2 separate regions of the Homo sapiens genome follow, and region 2 is linked to region 1. The links are contacts of gene promoters, found by promoter capture Hi-C in blood cells and fetal thymus (Javierre and others, 2016). All regions are on one chromosome and are shown on one strand. The core of a region is centred on a gene start or on the middle of the fragment in contact, and the rest is flanking DNA. Distances in the headings are between cores, read along the strand shown.

Region 1 (4,821 bases), core at 1,054-3,553:
TGGAACACGGTCGATACAGGGGATCGAGGTCCTTTGTTTTGTTGTAAACAAAGGTTGCCAGGTGGAGGTTGTTAGAGGGAGGGTGCTCAGTGAAAATGCTGTATGAACTGCATGACTTTTACAAGCAGGAGCGGTTCTCCAGTGCAGCCTTACATACAGCCATGGGTCTGCCCTGTGTATAAGTCCCCTTCAATAAACCCTATGTCTTGTTCGCTGACTCCAAGTCCCTTCTTTGGCCTCTCAAACATGGTGCCATCCCTACTGAAGTCAATAGGGTTCTGGCATGACAGACGCTACTGGCATTGAGTGTGTAGAGGCCAGGGGTGCTGCTAAGTAAATATTCTACAATATTTCTGGGCCCTACAACATAGAATTAAGCATCCTAAAATATCAACAGCGCTGAGCTTGAGAAACTTTCTCAGTGGCTTCAGTGCCCTTAGCTATGGGCCTTATCATCTCAGCCCTTATTTCCCAAAATCACTCACCTCTAGTCTTCCTCCCCATTTTCTATTTCCCATTTTAGGAGAGCTAAGCTCCAAACTAGATAAGTATTATAATGAATCTGGCAACTTCTAGAAGTTCTGTTATCTGAAATCACCTATCCAGTCATTATAAAACCCACAGCTGCACATACAGCGCAATATCAGAAAATGTGGTAACCCTGTGCATGCCTTCCTTCGTCAAACTATAAGTTTAATTGGTACTGCTTTTCGGGTTGGTTTACCAGAGCTGACATTGGAAAGCCTCTCAGGGGCTACATGGCACTCTTTTCTTGTTAAATTCATCAGTGAGTTTTAGTAATATATGTAAAAGTGATTAGGAGTAATAAACAAAACATTTTCCCTCCTTTGGATGAGATATGTATAAACGTATTTCCAAAGGCGCTGGGTGCATTTTGGTAGCCGTTTAATGAATGCTGCTAGATGACACTGGTCTTAAAATGTATTAAGTGTTGCAATAAACAGTGAAATATATTAGACTGAAAGTAACTTTCTGGCATTGCTAATTTATTTAATTTACTGACCATTCACTTATATTTGCCTCATCTGCTCTCACTTGAAGGCTGCAAAGAGTTTACTCTTTTTTGTCAAAACAATTTGGATGAAACAGATGAAGAGAAAAGGGCCATGTGGTGCCCATTTGCCCAGCTCCTAGAACCACAGGTGCATCGTGTTTGATAAGAGCCTCTCCGCAGGAAAGACATGCATTCCGCTCCTGTTTCTACTACAGCACCTTTCTTCTGCAAATTGGACAGTAATTTATAACACAGAAGATAATTATAAATACATTTATATTAGCCCTTAAGACTTTTTCTGGTACACAAATAATTGTCTATAAAGTGACAGTTCTCAGAAATCTTGTATTTAACTTTCCTTTGTCTAACTTTTTTTCATGTTATGTCAGGACTCATTAGATATTTCAACTGTTTTGCCTAAATTTCATCATAGTGAGGAATGCAGAATACAGAACTATAAAGTTTACTTTTTTTTTTTTTTTGGAGACAGAGTCTTCCTCTGTCACCCAGGCTGTAGTACAGTGGCACATTCTTGGTTCACTGCAACCTCAACCTCCCATGCTTAAGCAGTCCTTCCATCTCAACCTCCTGAGTAGCTGGGATTACAGGCATGTGCCACTACGGCTGTATAGTTTTTACAGAGATGGGGTTTCGCCATGTTGCTCAGGCTGGTCTTGACCTCCTGAGCTCAAGCAATTTGCCTGCCTCGGCCTCCCAGAGGGCTGGGATTACAGGCATGAGCCACCATGCCCGGCCAAGTTTATGTTTCTTTTAGTTATAGCAGACTTGCTTTTCTTAAAACAATATTTACACATATCTAGAACATTAACAAAATATTTTGAAAATATGGGTAGTTCTAATGCATTTAAACTTTTATAAGTTGTCATAAGTTTTATAACCATAACAAAAACAAACATTTGCTGAAAACACAATACAGTTGTACATTTCAACACTACATCATTTGAAGCTCCCTTCAAGGTACAGTAAGGCTCAAGTTGTTGGCTTCATATCACAATGCACTAACATCAATTTTCCCATTGGATACTGTTTTATGTTGCAAGAACCTTTATTTAAGTGTCATTGGACTATCATTCTGTAAAAGTAATAGTAATCTATGTGCTAATATGTCCCATTTCTTACTTTATGACAACTCCACTTACCCCCTAAATTCTAATACCTTCATTTAATCCATAAAAATGCCAATTTGCTAGTGAGAGAGCAGGCAAGACTTACCAGGATCTGGGAGTCTTTGTGGAGAGGTTCAGGCAGCAAACGGGGCATGTGAAGACACACCTGAAAGTTAGAGCCAGTTTATGTAGAAAACATTCTCCCCGAGGCACCTAAAAGTAGGGAAAAAAAAAGACAAGAGGTATTCCAATGCCTGTCAAAAAGGTGATTTGTGAAGTCACTTAAGTTTTAACTTATACACACACACACACCCACACACACACATAAACAGGGAAATAGAGCTCAGTTTTACAGCAAATATTTTTCTTGTTTTCTCTAAAACCAATTTTAATAGCCAGGAATAATGCACAGACATTTTGTTCCCTGATTTATTTATGTTTTTCTGGTTCATGTTTTAGCGGTCATTTTCAGACAGCTTGATACTTACCAGCTATAAAATGTGCGGAATTAGATGGGCTTGTTTCTCAGGAATGTGAGACCCCTGACTCCATCCCAATCTACTTTCAGGCGGACCAGGTGGAATAGTTTCAGATGGGTTCCCAAGGCTCTGACCAGTCCTACCTGGCTCAAGATCATCTTAAATGGCTCATAGATTTCTGTTTACCTTGTGATTCGGCAAGTACAACTAACCATTGTGGGAATGGCAAGTTTAAGTGGTTTTGGAATCCATGTGGTTTGAAATTTCATTCTCCTACGAGGAAGGTTTATAGTATAGAAATGAACCTACAGCAATCTTACATTTTATTCACTTGTCAGTGGATTAATATCTCCATTTCAAATCTGTGCAGTTTCAATGGGTAAGTTTATTGGTTGCTTGAAAAAACATTTAGGATTTCTAGAAGCTCATGGAAAATACCCTTAGGGAAGAAAAATGATTGTGAACTGAGCCAAAATGAGATGCTCATTTTTACACAACATTTACAAATCAGGAAATAGATTCAACAAACTTTCACCAAATACCACTCTTACAGGCCTTTAAGCTTTTTCAAGGGTATTTTTCAATGCTTCTTACCTGTTATTTGTGTTTTAATTTATTGCTCTATTTTTCCATCGATGCCACTGTTTTTAATTTTGTTCCCTATAGGTCAGGTTCATCTGCTCACTTCTGATGTACTAGAAAGCAAACTCCAAGAGGGCAGGAACATGTCTTTTCCATTTTAGGATGAAGTATAGAAGAAGCTTGCAGTCAATATTTGCTAAACTAACTTGTTTTATTTATTTTTTACAAGCCAACAGCTGCCACAAAGTACCAGGTGGTAGGAGACCAAAGAGCAGTATTTGGTTTTTAGGTGGATACTTCAGCAAAGTGTGTGAGTGAAATCAAGGGACTTTCAGTTTGTTCAATTGACGGGTTTGTGATCTGTTTTATTAGACCAATACTATTTTCCCTTTAGACTCTTAAATTATTGTGCAAAGCATAAACTCTAGGCATTAAAATTTATATAATTTTTAAACTTATTTCAAACATTGGAATTTCATATTGTCTTTTTTGCCTTTTGAGATATGTAAATTTTAAAAGCTTGTTGCATTCTTGAGTGATTTGATTATATCTTGAGGGGTTTTCCTGTTATATGTGTCTCCAGTTTTATGACGAGAATCAAAGTTACATGGTTCAAATTTCAAAAATTTCCCTTTAAATAATCATGAATAGGTTATCGTAGGCTGTTTTCCTGTAAACTGATGGCATGTCTTGGGGTATCTGCTTTCATCTCAATGAGTTAACTATTTACCTCTTAAGATTAGGTGTAGAGTTAGAAGCTGTCAGGCAGGATATATTTTCAAGAAAAATAATTTTCCCATGCAACTAAAAGATCAGTCTATCAGTTAATCAGAAGCAGTCTTTCAGTATAGCTCTCCTTAAAGTGTTGATATCTTTTTTATTAAAAGGAAAATAGCTTTATTGCTTTTCCTGGAGAGTAGTATATGCTCTTTTACCCAAAATCGGACAATATAAAAATTCAAAGGAAAAAGAAAGTAAAAATCCTTGAAAGCCTCAAATTTTTTGGTAACTATCTTTCCAGATCCCTCCTCCTCATTCTCTGGTTCTTTTCTTTAGTCTATATACGCCTGTAATTTTTCTTTAGTCTCTATTTCTTCAGTCACAGAACCTTAAAAACCAACAGATTCCATTAGGTAAAATTGACCTATCAGAATTCATTTGTTGCAAGTATACATGTTAATGCCTTCGGTTGAACTAAAGTTAAATGTGAGAGAGGTGAATATTTCATCTCTTCCTTAAGACGAGGTATTTCCTCAGAAGTCAGCCTGGGAAGAAATTCCTGGCGCAGCCTCATCTCAACCAGAACTGCTTGGTGAGCCTTCTCTCGCTGTGGCCTTGCCCGTCATTCCCGCGCGGTGGCCCACCTAACTGCAGGGCTGAGGAGGTTGTTCCTAAAAAGACTTGCCCACAGTCGGGATTCCATGAGGGCTAAGGAGTCTTCACTGGGCACAGCGAGGCTTGCAAGTCCTGACAGGAAGTGTGGAGGATTACTCAGTCACAGAAAACCTTGAAACAGCTAATCAGCCTTTAATTAGATTCAGTGAACCTGAATGAAGCTAAGATCCCAGGGCTTGAGGCAGCTGACGTACTCTGCCAAAGCTCTGAAAGGACAGAAGGG
Region 2 (4,652 bases), core at 161-2,660, 210 kb before region 1:
AAGTTGCCTATATTAAAAAACTAGTAATTCCAGATCTTTTATATTTGGCTTTGAAATATAACCAGATGGACAGACATTTGTATTTGCTTGTATTCGTGCCTGAGATATAGTTCATTAACCAGTCTTCTGGTCTTTCCTTTCCTTCTATGTGCTTTGCGAACAATTCCCTTCTTGGGATTTATTTTCTGAACAAATGGTAGATGATTTTACAAATTGGAAAGAACTTTTCTGGCAGTTACGTAGATTCTTTTTTTCTGACTGTCACAGGGTATTGAGTACAAAGTTGGGAAATTCCCATTTGCTGCTAACAGCAGAGCTAAGACAAATGCTGACACAGATGGCATGGTGAAGATCCTTGGGCAGAAATCGACAGACAGAGTACTGGGAGCACATATTCTTGGACCAGTGAGTATTGTAAAACCAGAGAAATCCCATTAAGATTTCTAGAAAGCATTGCTGTTTATTAATTATAAACCACCTGGTGTTAGTCTGAGGTTGCTCATTTCCAGCAAAACTTTGAATATGGCTCTCTGTGCATCATTTCTAGAAGGATACCAGCAGCACTCTCACAGTCTTGCCCACTGTATCATCTACTTTGTCCTGCAGCCAAGATTCTCTCTTTAAAACATACACCAGATTATGCCCCTTAAAATCCTCCAGTGGTGCTTTTCAACTTCAGATTGTTACATCCAAGGCCTCACTGAATCTGTTTGTGCCTACTTCTCTGACCTCTTCTTTTTCTGCTCTCTTTTACTCATTAATGCCATGTCACATGGGCCTTCTCTCATTTTCACAACAGACCAAATATTTGCATTTTAGGGCCTTTGTGCTTAAGATACCCTCTGCTTAGACTGTTCTGCCTCCAGATCTTTGAATGGCTGGCTCCTTATTATTCAGGTCTCAGCTCAAATGTTACCTCCTAAGGGAAGCCTTTCCTACCACTGAGCCTAAAGTATGTATCTTTCTTGTAGATATCTCTTGTATCTGATGTAACAATAATGAGAATAGAATATTTGAGTGCTGTGTCACTTTAGTATACATTTTGTTATTTTTACATCAGCTTTTTGAAATAGGTGCTGTTATTTTTGAGGTGAAGAAACTGAATGAAGCACAAAGAACCAATGAATGGTTAAGGTAGTAAGTGGTAGATATGAATTGAAGGCCCTTTGGCTCCAGAGCCCAAGCTCTTCTGTGTCACCTTTTCTATTAAGCTTTTCCTGACTTTTCTTCAACTGATAAAGAAACAGATTTAAGGCGTTTTTAAGATCTAAAAGCTTCCCCTCAACAATTGCTATCCTATTAGCATGTAGTTTTTGCCTTGGAAGCAAATTTACTTGGCTTGTTATTTTAAAGGGTGCTGGAGAAATGGTAAATGAAGCTGCTCTTGCTTTGGAATATGGAGCATCCTGTGAAGATATAGCTAGAGTCTGTCATGCACATCCGGTAATTATTAACAACATATAGAATTGATGGTTGCCTAAATTTTCTTCTGACCCACAAATATTTGGATTTTAATTTTAAATTTCTTCCCTTGCAGACCTTATCAGAAGCTTTTAGAGAAGCAAATCTTGCTGCGTCATTTGGCAAATCAATCAACTTTTGAATTAGAAGATTATATATATTTTTTTCTGAAATTTCCTGGGAGCTTTTGTAGAAGTCACATTCCTGAACAGGATATTCTCACAGCTCCAAGAATTTCTAGGACTGAATTATGAAACTTTTGGAAGGTATTTAATAGGTTTGGACAAAATGGAATACTCTTATATCTATATTTTACATAAATTTAGTATTTTGTTTCAGTGCACTAATGTGTAAGACAAAAAGCTACTTATTGTAGCATCCTGGAATATCTCCGTCAACTCATATTTTCATGCTGTTCATGAAAGATTCAATGCCCCTGAATTTAAATAGCTTTTTTCTCTGATACAGAAAAGTTGAATTTTACATGGCTGGAGCTAGAATTTGATATGTGAACAGTTGTGTTTGAAGCACAGTGATCAAGTTATTTTTAATTTGGTTTTCACATTGGAAACAAGTCAGTCATTCAGATATGATTCAAATGTCTATAAACCGAACTGATGTAAGTAAACGGTCTCTCACTTGTTTTATTTAACCTCTAAATTCTTTCATTTTAGGGGTAGCATTTGTGTTGAAGAGGTTTTAAAGCTTCCATTGTTGTCTGCAACTCTGAAGGGTAATTATATAGTTACCCAAATTAAGAGAGTCTATTTACGGAACTCAAATACGTGGGCATTCAAATGTATTACAGTGGGGAATGAAGATACTGAAATAAACGTCTTAAATATTCATTTACTGGTTATCATGAGTACGTGTTGAGATGGTCATAGTTTTTTTTATGACTACTTCTAGTGTATATTCTAATTTCTTTTCTAGGCCTGAATGTATCTTTATTTTCATGTTATAGGACAATATTAAGGCATTTTAAAGGTCATCATCCTTTCATCTATTTTAGATACACCTACTAAATGTTTAATATATACTTTTGGAGAAGTACAACATAAGGGAGTCTTTAATCTGTGTTTTCCTTGGCTGGGTTAATGACTGTTTATTTAAAGAGTGTTGTAAAATTGGATGTGTGGTGTTTAAAATGGCCATGTCCTGAGGAAACTTAAGTAACAAAGTACTAAATGCTAAGTAGGCTTTTGCATATTGTAACTAAATTTAAGAATAATTCAGATTAAGTAGTTCTGAAATTTGGTATAGATAGCATAGATTGTCTCATGCTCATGAGTGACATAATGACCCTGGATTCTGTTACATACTTCTAAAGAAAATTGATTGTTGTCTTAGGAGGCAGTTAACTTGGCTGAACACCAACTCCACACTCTGTCTTGTTTGTAGGTGGCAGCAGCTGAAATCTCTTCTCAGTTGTTTTAGCTTTAGCTATGCTGCTGGAAGTCTTTCCCATGCAAGTGTGTAGTTCAGGGGTCAACCAGAGTTTGGGCAGAAGGAAGTCTGCCCCTTCTGTGCCTCCTGTTTTTTGGGGGTTTCCCCTTTATGTTCCAGCTGTTGTGGTTGCCCCATATTCTGCCTTCTGATCCTTAACCAATAAAACTTGGCTTTTGTTTCCCCCTCAAGTGAGAACCCGTTAAAAATGAGACATTGAGCCAGTGCTGTTCACTTTTTAAGTGCCAACTTCCCTCTACTTTCCACTTGTTTATAGTTGTTTCCAGTGCCTTTAGTTTTTTCTAAAATATATTTGTTCAGAGTTTGCAGTTGCTATCAGCAGGAGGGTTGGTCTGATATCTGTGTGCTACTTTGCCATTATTGGAAGTGAACTCTGCATCTTTTTAAAAATTTGAAATCCCGGTATCATGTGAAGTGCTGTTTATGTAAATCTCAACATATCCCTTACTCAGGGAAAAAAAAGTTTTTAGTTAGGGAATAGTGAAATATAATTTAATATGGAATTCTAGCTGTAGAGTTAAATCCATCTTTAAGTGTTTACATTCAGTATGAGAATGCAAATTTATCTGTATGGGGAATAAAGTCCTAGGAATAAAACAAGTTTTAAGTGTTCACTTACTGTTATCTACTAAGCTGTCAATATTTTTGTGGCTTGTGAAGAGTGAAATTAATTGTCCACTTCATTGAACTGATTAAAATTAGTAATTTCAACTGGCTGGGAGCGGTGGCTCACTCCTGTAATCCCAGCACTTTGGGAGGCCGGGGCGGGCAGATCACCTGCGGTCAGGAGTTTGAGACCAACCTGACCAATGTGGTAAAACCCCATCTCTACTAAAAATATAAAAATTAGCCAGGTGTGGTGGCAGGCCCCTGTAATCCCAACTACTCAGGAGGCTGAGGCAGAATCACTTGAACCCAGGAGGCGGTGAGCTGAGATCATGCCACTGCATTCTAGCCTGGCGACAGAGCGAAACTCCGTCTCAAAAAAAAAAAAAAAGTAATTTCAAAGTGAGATCTTTAGTTGTTTAGCTGAAAAGGAATGGAGAGTGTTTCTACTGTTCTAAGTAAAATACTACATAATTGCTCTAGTAGATGATGGGGTATGACCATTTTTGCTAGTTATTGGGATTTTTTTTTTTAATTAAGTTCTGGGGTACATGTGCAGAACATGCAGGTTTGTTACATAGGTATACATGTGCCATGGTGGTTTGCTGCACCCATCAACCCATCATCTACATTAGGTATTTCTCTTAATGCTATCCCTCCCCCACCCCCATCCCCTTGTCCATGTGTTTTCATTGTTCACCTCCCACTTACAAGTGAGAACATGTGGTGTTTGGTTTTCTATTTTTGTGTTAGTTTGCTGAGAACGATGGTTTCCAGCTTCATCCATGTCCCTGCAAAGGATGTGAACTCATCCTTTATTATGGCTGCATAGTATTCCATGGTGTATATGTGCCACATTTTCTTTATCCATTCTGTCATAGATGGGCATTTGGGTTGGTTCCAAGTCTTTGCTATTGTGAACAGTGCCTCAATAAACATACATGTGCATGTGTCTTTATAGTAGAATGATTTATAATCCTTCGGGTATATACCCAGTAATAGCATTGCTGGGTCAAATGGTATTTCTAGTTCTAGATCCTTGAGGAATTGCCACACTGTCTTCCACAATGGTTGAACTAATTTACACTCCCACTAACAGTGTAAAAGTGTTCCTATTT

The links. Contacts are between HindIII fragments. The CHiCAGO score rates a contact against its expected background, and 5 or more counts as called.
Region 2: a contact is called between a fragment that was not itself captured here and the fragment with the promoter of LAMB4 in region 1, in 1 of 17 cell types (endothelial precursors). The highest score is 5.9, in endothelial precursors.

What each region holds. Positions count from the first base shown.
Region 1 is chr7:108,128,058-108,132,878 of GRCh38, forward strand. LAMB4 (laminin subunit beta 4) reads right to left here and starts at 2,304. Exons shown (of 34, transcript NM_007356.3): 1 at 2,249-2,304. The HindIII fragment of the contact is 5,422 bases long and covers 1-3,181 here.
Region 2 is chr7:107,917,657-107,922,308 of GRCh38, forward strand. It overlaps DLD (dihydrolipoamide dehydrogenase), which reads left to right. Exons shown (of 14, transcript NM_000108.5): 12 at 268-405; 13 at 1,354-1,443; 14 at 1,538-3,542. The coding sequence ends at 1,603. Among named protein-coding and RNA genes, the nearest start is that of DLD, 29 kb to the left of the region's middle. RefSeq lists an enhancer at 397-796. The HindIII fragment of the contact is 276 bases long and covers 1,273-1,548 here.